3 separate regions of the Homo sapiens genome follow, and regions 1 and 2 are each linked to region 3. The links are contacts of gene promoters, found by promoter capture Hi-C in blood cells and fetal thymus (Javierre and others, 2016). All regions are on one chromosome and are shown on one strand. The core of a region is centred on a gene start or on the middle of the fragment in contact, and the rest is flanking DNA. Distances in the headings are between cores, read along the strand shown. Region 1 overlaps CGNL1 (cingulin like 1). Region 2 overlaps CGNL1 (cingulin like 1). Region 3 holds the start of TCF12 (transcription factor 12).

Region 1 (2,700 bases), core at 33-2,532, 600 kb after region 3:
TGCGGTTTCACCATGTTGGCCAGGCTGGTCTCAAACTCCTGACCTCAGGTGATCTGCCCGCCTCGGCCTCCCAAAGTGCTGGGATTACAGGCTTGAGTCACTGTGCCCGGTCCCTTGTTTTTATTTCTCTTAGCTATATAGCAAGGAGTGAAATTGCTAGGTCCTACCGTAACTCTGTGTAACATTTTGAGGAACTGGCAAACTGTTTTCCAAAGTAGCTGCACCATTTTACATTCCTACCAGCAATGTATAAGTGGTCTAATTCCTCTAAACTCTCCCCAATACTTGTTATTATCTTTCTTTTTTATTATAGCTATCCTAGTGGATGTGGAGTGGTATCTCATTATGGTTTTAATTTGCATTTCCCTAATGACTAATGATGTTGAATATGTTTTCATATGCATGTTGGATTTTATATACTGTTCGGATCCTTTCCCCATTGTTTATTTATTTATTTTTTGAGATGGAGTCTTGCTCTGTCACCCAAGTTGGAGTGCAGTGGTCCCATCTCGGCTCACTGCAATCTCTGCCTCCCGAGTTCAAACAATTCTCTCGCCTCAGCATCCCAATTAGCTGGGATTACAGGTGTGCACCACCACACCTGGCTGATTTTTGTATTTTTAGTAGAGATGGGGTTTTATCATGTTGGCCAGGCTGGTCTTGAACTTCTGACCACAAGTGATCCGCCTGCCTGGGCCTCTTAAAGTGCAGAGACTATGACGTAACCCACCGCACCTGGCCCCATTTTTAAGTCTTTTTGTTACTGAGTTAAAGAATCATTTATATATTCTGGATATGAGTCCTTCATTAGATATATGACTTTTATTTCCTTTCATTCTGGTCGTTGTCTTTTGACTTTCTTGGTGGCATCATTTGCAGCACAAAAGTTTTAAATTTTGAAGAAGCTTAATTTATCTGTTCGTTCTTTTGTCACTTGTACTTTTGGTGTTGTAGCTAAGTAGCCTTTGCCTAACCCAAGGTCACAAATACTTGTTTCTGTGTTTTAAGAGTTTTATAGTTTTAGATCCTACATTTGGGCCTATGATCCATTTTGAGTTAACTTTTGTGTATGGTATGAGGAAGATGTCTAACTTCATTTCTTTTTCATGTGGATATCCAGTTGTAGTGGCACCATTTGTTGAAGGCTATTCTTTCCCCCATTGAATTGTCTTGGCACCCTTGTTGAAAAGCAGTTGGCTATACATGTAGGGGTTTATGTCTGAACTCCCAATTCTGTTTCATTGATTTATATGCCTTCCCTCATGCCAGTACTGCCCTGTCTTGATAACTGTAACTTTGTCTCACATGTTAATAGGAGAGTTAGGGCAGAAGTGGGCAATCTAGACTTTTTCTTTCCCTGGTCTGACCAGTTACTAGATTCTTTAGATCCTTCCTCAAGTTTTCAACCACACTTTATTTCTCCTCTGTATATTTTTGTGACATGTCCTCTTGCTGGTTTCATTAGGAGACGATATCCTGATAGACCTGAGAAGTCTCAGCTGTCTGACACCTTAGTTTTCTCCTAGCAACGCCAGCTAACTTCATTCTAACTCAGTTGCTTGGCTCCGATGGGCTTTCTCTGTTGTATAGAATTAAACCTTTGGGCCATGAAAGGATGCTCTGGTTCCTGAAATTCTCTAACTGGTTAGGTTCAGGATAATAAGCTTACTGTACTGTTAAGAGAAGTAAAGATCTTTCCAACAGGCTATATAAGTGAGCAGTTCTAGCAGATACTTCTCCCACATGGTCGGTGATACAGCCTTTAAAAGCCTAACCTTGTCCTCCCTGGGCCTTTCTTTTATCGCAGGCGTCTGTAGCATTGTGTTGTAGGCATGAGATTTGCTGATATTGGCATCTTTGTAGTAGTGGAGAAATGGAGGACAGGTAAGAGATCTGCCTGGAGAGGTGGAATGTGGGGCAGGACCATTTCCCATCACTTCAAATTGCTAAACCGAAGAATACAAAGCCCCTGTGACCTCTGGAATCAACAATAACCACCCTGAGATTGTCATTCCTTTCTGTTGTGGATTGTGTGCAGCATACCTAGAGCTTACACTGTGAACTGTATCCTAATTTAAGCTAATTTAAATTTCTGTTTTATATTGGACATGAAAAAAATCTGTACTCCGAAGCTGCCCTTCCTCAAGAGCTTCTATTAAAGACCCTGGGCCGGGTGTGGTGGCTCACACCTGTAATCCCAGCACTTTGGGAGGCCGAGGCAGACAGATGATGAGCTCAGGAGATCGAGACCATCCTGGCTAACATGGTGAAACCCCGTCTCTACTAAAAATATAAAAAAATTAGCCAGGCGTGGTGGCGGGCGCCTGTAGTCCCAGCTACTCGGGAGGCTGAAGCAGGAGAATGGTGTGAACCCAGGAGGCGGAGCTTGCAGTGAGCCGACATCGCGCCACTGCACTCCAGCCTGGGGGACAGAGCGAGACTCTGTCTCAAAAAAAAAAAAAAAAAAAAAAAGAAAGAAAAAGAGACCCTGCCCATGCAAATGGGGCAGGGAAGTGGACATGTCAGAAAGCGAGGGTTATGAGGACAGGTTCTGGATTCAGCCTGCCCGAATGCAGTTCCTCCTAAGTGATCTTGGACAAGTTACTTAAACTATCCAAGTGTCAGTTTCCTCATATTTAAGATGGCGATAAGAATAGCACCCGCCTTCTGGAATTGTTAAAAGGTCGAAATCCCGTGTAA
Region 2 (2,700 bases), core at 11-2,510, 620 kb after region 3:
TTATTCATAACCACTTGGGAAACTTCCACTTTCTGCCTTATGTTTTTGTCTTCTTTTTCAAATCTTCCCTATTCCAAAGGGCACTTTCCTCTGGTCTCTTCTGCTTATTCACATGGACTTCCCTTTCCTCGGTTCAGGGTGACCAAGAATTGGAAGTTCCAGAGCTTGGGGATAGCACCTTATGAGCAGGCAGCCCTGCTCAAAGTAGAACGTGAATCCCTGGCTGCTTTTCCGTATTCTTTTAGGTCCCTGTTGATAGATTTCTTTGCAAACAAGTGGGATACTCATGCTCCTTTGCTCCTGAGAGTGAAGAAAGTTGCAACCCAGCTGTGTTCCCTCCACCCTCCTCATGGAGAGTGGGTTCTGTCTGCGTGTTCCCAGGCTATGATTTATCTGGAGCTGCAACAGCTTATCAGGCCAGAGCTGCACAGGTTTAGAGAGGGACCTTCCTGAAAATCAGAGGCCCAGATAGAGAGCTCAACCTTGACATCTCCTCTACTGCCCGCCAGGGTTGTTACTGAAGACTTTGTTTTCTAAGTTCTCTCACTGGAATAAAAGCTGTTTTGTGATGAGCCCCTGCCAGCCTGGCTAAGTAGCGACGTTCCCCCCAGACATGTCAGGATCCGCTAAACATTCACAATGACAAAGGATGTGACCATGGATTTGTTTTGCCAGCGCTTCTTGTGGCTTATGCTAAGAGGAATAGTGGGAAAGCCTGTCATCCTATCAGTAATGAGGCCGTTACAACAGACCTTCAGTTCCATGTTTATATCAGAAACAAAACACAGACATTGAACCAGAACGTGTCTGCTTCCCTTAGCTCAGCTGACAGCCCAACACTGACAGAACTGATCATGCAGAGATCTGGTCCCAGAATTGCTCTGGACACTTCTTTTTCCTTTCAACTGAGCACTTGGATCATGGGGAATAGAACTGCTGTCCATGATGTGGTCAAGGCTAAAAATATTTCCACTAAGCCAAGAACTTGATGTCAGTTTAGGGGGGAAGTTAAGGGAACCAAGGACTTGAAGTAAGTCCAGGGAGGAAGTTAAGGGAACTCACTTGGTCTGCTGGGGAGAGCAGTGGGCTGGCAGTCCCAGTCCTGGCTCCTGCATTAGCCTCATTTACCTCTGGGAGAGTCCCAGCCTCTCTGAGCTCAGTCTCTAAAATCTATCAAAAGGAAGTCATTGATCCAGGTGATCTCTGAAGGCTCTTCTGAATTCTAACATTGCAATGCTGCAAGAAGGTTTCATACATCCAGAAGCGTCTGACTCACCCTTTACTTTCCCCCAATTCTCTCCCTGTATCTGAGTTACATGCCTAAAAAGATGAGTTCCACCAATGTCTATAACCTCTTTCCCTACCAGCTCTCTTTCCCTCTTCTGTTTTCTTTCTTCTCACTGCATCATCTGAGATAGGGAGGGTATAGCCTGGTGTTTGTTATAAGTGGAGAAATTGAGCACATTCACATGGACGTAGGAATTGGTAAGCCAATGAAACAGAAACGCTGATGTCTCCTGATTGTGTTCTGAGAGCTTCTCTTCTGGCCTTTGCTGCCTCCTGACTTGTGAGGGAGGGCAGAGAAATGGGTGGGCCAAATACCCGCCTCCCTGGAAAGCATCTCATTCTCATTCAAAGTTGAGGTTGAGCCAAGGCTTATTTCCTGCCTCTTGAAATGAAGGCTCTCTGGGGAGGGCCTTGGGTATAGACAGATGGGCCCTGATTCTGAGCTCTTCTGGTCCACTTAGATTAACTTCTAGGGCCGTGTGCCTGTGCTTTCCTGCTGAAATCAAAGCCAGAAAAGGGAAACTTCAAAACGTAAGGCCGCTTTTCCTCTCCCCCATCAAATGCTGACCTTATGACATCTCCTTAACAAGGACATCTCCTAAAAACAGGAAAGGGTGCTTGTTATCTTGAACCCAAGTAATAACATCGGCCCTGCCTTCCTAGCAAACTGCTACTAGGCACTGAAAAGAGAATGCATGGGATATTTTAGTTTGGTGATCTTGTTCTCTTTAAATTAAAAGGTTCAAACTTAACAGCTTTCTCCTTAAACTCTGAATTCTCACAAGCTCCTTTGCGGAATCTTTGCTTCCCCCAAACATCTCCCACTAGTCTTAGTGATGGGACTTAAGTGAATAAGCCACAAAAAAGGTTTTCCAGCAATATTAGTGAATGGCCAACCCCTCTCATAGACTGTTAGATCTGGCAAGGACCTCAGAGTCCAACTCTCCCCACTTCACTGTAATGGATGAGAGATTTGAGGCCCAGAGTCACCTGGTGATTTGACCACAGTCATGCAGGCAATTGACTGCAGAGCTGGGCTTAGGTCTCAATTTCCAAGGCAGTGCTCTATCTACCCGTGCCTGCAAAATATGATGAATACCTGCTGTGTGCATGGCATTGCAGTAAAGCTCCAAGAGGACCAGAAATGGTCCCTGACCTTGAGTTGCTACAGTTTGTTTGAGGAGATGGGTCAGACCTAAAAAATTGATAACTAACAATAGAAAACAGTGGATACTAAATGCCAAGTAAAAGATTCAAGCAGCTAATGAGGGAAAGACCATTGTTGCAAGAGTGAGTGTGGAAGAATTACTGGAAAGAGGGTGGGGACCTGGGGTCAGCTCTAAAGAAAGGGTAAGACGTGAATAAACCAAGGGGATTGGGAATGGGATTCTAGATAGAAGGAATGGTGTGAAC
Region 3 (2,700 bases), core at 110-2,609:
TGAAAATGTACTGAAAATATAGAGATTTCTTTGGATGATTATTTCCTAAATACACCTTAACAACTATTCACATAGCATTTGCATTGTATTAGGTTTTATAAGTAATCTAGATATGATTTAAAGTATATGGGGAAACACACCATTTTTATGTAAGAGACTTGAACATCTTAGAAAATCCAGAGTCTGGGAACCAATCCCACGGATATAGAGACAACTGTACTAACTACAGTAATGGCATATGGTAGCTGAATCTACCTCTCTTTCCATCCCAGTCCGGAATCCAAAGGCTCCTTCTTGCCATGTTGTCCTCGGGCGTTGGCTGCTTCCTCCCATTTGTTACTTTGGAAGTGTCTTCTTTCCTCAGTGTTTCTTCTGCGTGGGCCTTACCGGTCTTTACTGCACTCACTTACCTAAGAGGCAAAACAATGGCTGCCATTCAAGAAAATCTCACTTCAGCCCAGAATCGAAGAACTGGGGCTTATTTTGTCTTCTTTCTACTCTGGGGCTTCTCTGAGGCCAAGTTCAGAACTTGTGCACAAGACAGTGGCTGTGTGACAGAGCCACCCAGGGCTGTCTCCGTTAGATGAAGAGACTGGCTTGATCCATTCCCAAGAACTAGTCCCACGTGCAGTTCGGTTGCTCCGAATGGGATTTGGGTGCGAGGGGCTGACTGGAGATGTGGGGTCTGGGTGAGTGGGGTATTTGAGAACCTGAAGCTCACAAGGCTTTGTCTGGTTTGAGGTACGTTTTGCCCTTTCTCCCGCATTCGGCTCTGCATCGAATCTGACCGGCCGCGCCTACTCTCGGAACGGCCGAGGAGGATGGGTCTCCCGTCTCCACACGCGCGGTGTCTGCGCCGACTGCAGCCCTCCTGGACGGGAGCCTCTGGGCCCAGCTTAGGGTGGCGTCCAGCGTGACCTACTCGGGAATGGCAGCCTTCAGTGTCCTGCGGCCTCGGGTTCCGGGAAGCTCGGGGACCTGGGCAGCGGATCCAGATGCTTCCACAGCTGTGTCTCCGTCGCTCCGCTTCGGGGGCCGAGAACCAGCAAGACCAACGCGAGGAGGCGCCACGGTACCTGCCACCCCGCTCCCAGGAGGCCCGGACGAGGCTTCGTCGGCGAGCGGTCGGGGCCTGCTTCTCGAGGTGCCTGCGAGCGCCTCATGCCCCTCCCCACCGGCCCCAACTCCGTCCCGCCTCACCCGACCGCGGGCTTTGTCCACCCGCCGCGGTGCGGCTCCTCCCAGTCCCCGACAGCTCCTCCCCGCCCCCTCTGCCGGCCCCACTTCCTAGGCGGCGGAGCGGGTCGGGGAGGGAAGGGTTAACCCGCGGCTCTTCCCGGCGCGGAGGGATCCGGAGGCGAGCCGAGCGCGGTGGTGAGGCCGCCTCAGCGAAAAAAATGTCCGCCTGAAGAGACCCACAAGTTCTATTCGGGGGGACCGACAGCCCGCCCCGGGAGGAAGGGGCGGCCAGGCCCGAAAGCCGCCTCCCCCTCCCAGACCCGAGAGCTCGTGCGGGGCAAAGTGAACCGAGCCGCTGGGCGGTGCAAGGGGAAGCCCAAGCCCGTTCTCCCGGCCAAAGTGAACTTTAATCGGGGTGGTTGGATGCGGAGACGGGGCGGCAGGTAATTGCGGGCTAGCGAGCGGGAGTGGGGCGGCGCGGCGGGGCTGGGGGCTGCGGGGCGCCGCCGCGTCCCTGCCGGAGTGGGGGCGCCCCCGTCCCCCGCCTCAACTCCGCGCCCCTTTGTACAGCGCGAAACCCGGGGTCCCCTCCAAGTTGGGGAGCGGAGTGGGGGCGGAGGCTCGAGTCGCGGGCGCTCAGGCCCGCTGGCGGCGCGCTCGGCCTGTGCGCCCCGTTCGGTGCCCGACTCGGGCCGGCGCCCAGGCTCCGGGGCGCGCGGGAGATCGGGCGGCTTCGGCCGCGGAGCCAGGCTCATTGTTCGGCAGGTCCGGGGCAGGGCAGCAAAAGTGGGAGGAGGCCGAGCCTGGGGAGGAGGACGCCGGCCGAGAGCGAGACTAGTTGTCGGGGTTTCTGTTTTCTGTTTAAAAACGCCCCTTGGATGAGCTGGGGGTGCTTTCCGACCTCCTGGGCCCGCCGGGGACGTCCGGGCGGCGGCGGCCGCAGACGCGGGCCTGCGAGCGGCGCGTTCCCTGCAACTTGTCAGTTCTATTGTTGCCGAGCGAGTGAGTCACTTCGCATCTCCGCTCGCCGCCGCTCCGCTCGCTGGACGCCGAATTGCCCCTCACCCCGCTCCTCGAGACCCCAGCCGCGGCCGGGCCCGGCGCGCGGAGCACCCGGCGGCGGCGCGGAGCAGGGGGCGCCGAGGAGGTGGCAGAGACTGGCTCGGAAACTTGGGGGAGAGGCGGCGAGTTGCGGGAGCCGCCGCGTCGATCTCGGGCCGCGGCGAGGAACGCGTGGATTCCGGGACCCGGCGCGGGCACTGAGCCCTCCCGCCCCTTGCTCGCGCCGCGGTGGGAGCGAGTCGGGGTCCTGGAAGTCATCCCGGCGCCCCCAGCGCTCTTGCGTAATCTTCCCCAGTACCTCTCTCTGTTCCCTCACACACTTTGGGCCTCGGTGGTCTCTCGCTGAGCCCGTTTCCTCTGCCCTAGGACCTGCTAGAAGTGGCCGAAGATGAATCCCCAGCAACAACGCATGGCCGCTATAGGGACCGACAAGGAGCTGAGCGACCTACTGGACTTCAG

The links. Contacts are between HindIII fragments. The CHiCAGO score rates a contact against its expected background, and 5 or more counts as called.
Region 1: a contact is called between a fragment that was not itself captured here and the fragment with the promoter of TCF12 in region 3, in 2 of 17 cell types (total B cells and naive B cells). The highest score is 5.3, in total B cells.
Region 2: a contact is called between a fragment that was not itself captured here and the fragment with the promoter of TCF12 in region 3, in 2 of 17 cell types (naive B cells and total B cells). The highest score is 6.9, in naive B cells.

The regions. Positions count from the first base shown.
Region 1 is chr15:57,513,710-57,516,409 of GRCh38, forward strand. The region is part of intron 8 of CGNL1 (cingulin like 1); the gene reads left to right. Among named protein-coding and RNA genes, the nearest start is that of GCOM1, 77 kb to the right of the region's middle. The HindIII fragment of the contact is 759 bases long and covers 904-1,662 here.
Region 2 is chr15:57,532,849-57,535,548 of GRCh38, forward strand. The region is part of intron 14 of CGNL1 (cingulin like 1); the gene reads left to right. Among named protein-coding and RNA genes, the nearest start is that of GCOM1, 58 kb to the right of the region's middle. The HindIII fragment of the contact is 7,611 bases long and covers 1-2,700 here.
Region 3 is chr15:56,917,285-56,919,984 of GRCh38, forward strand. TCF12 (transcription factor 12) reads left to right here and starts at 1,360. Exons shown (of 21, transcript NM_207037.2): 1 at 1,360-1,622; 2 at 2,608-2,700. The coding sequence starts at 2,630. It overlaps TCF12-DT (TCF12 divergent transcript), which reads right to left and starts at 1,215. Exons shown (of 4, transcript NR_015419.2): 1 at 256-1,215. RefSeq lists silencers at 520-659, 1,180-1,309, 1,480-1,529, 1,620-1,909, 1,960-2,399. The HindIII fragment of the contact is 11,533 bases long and covers 1-2,700 here.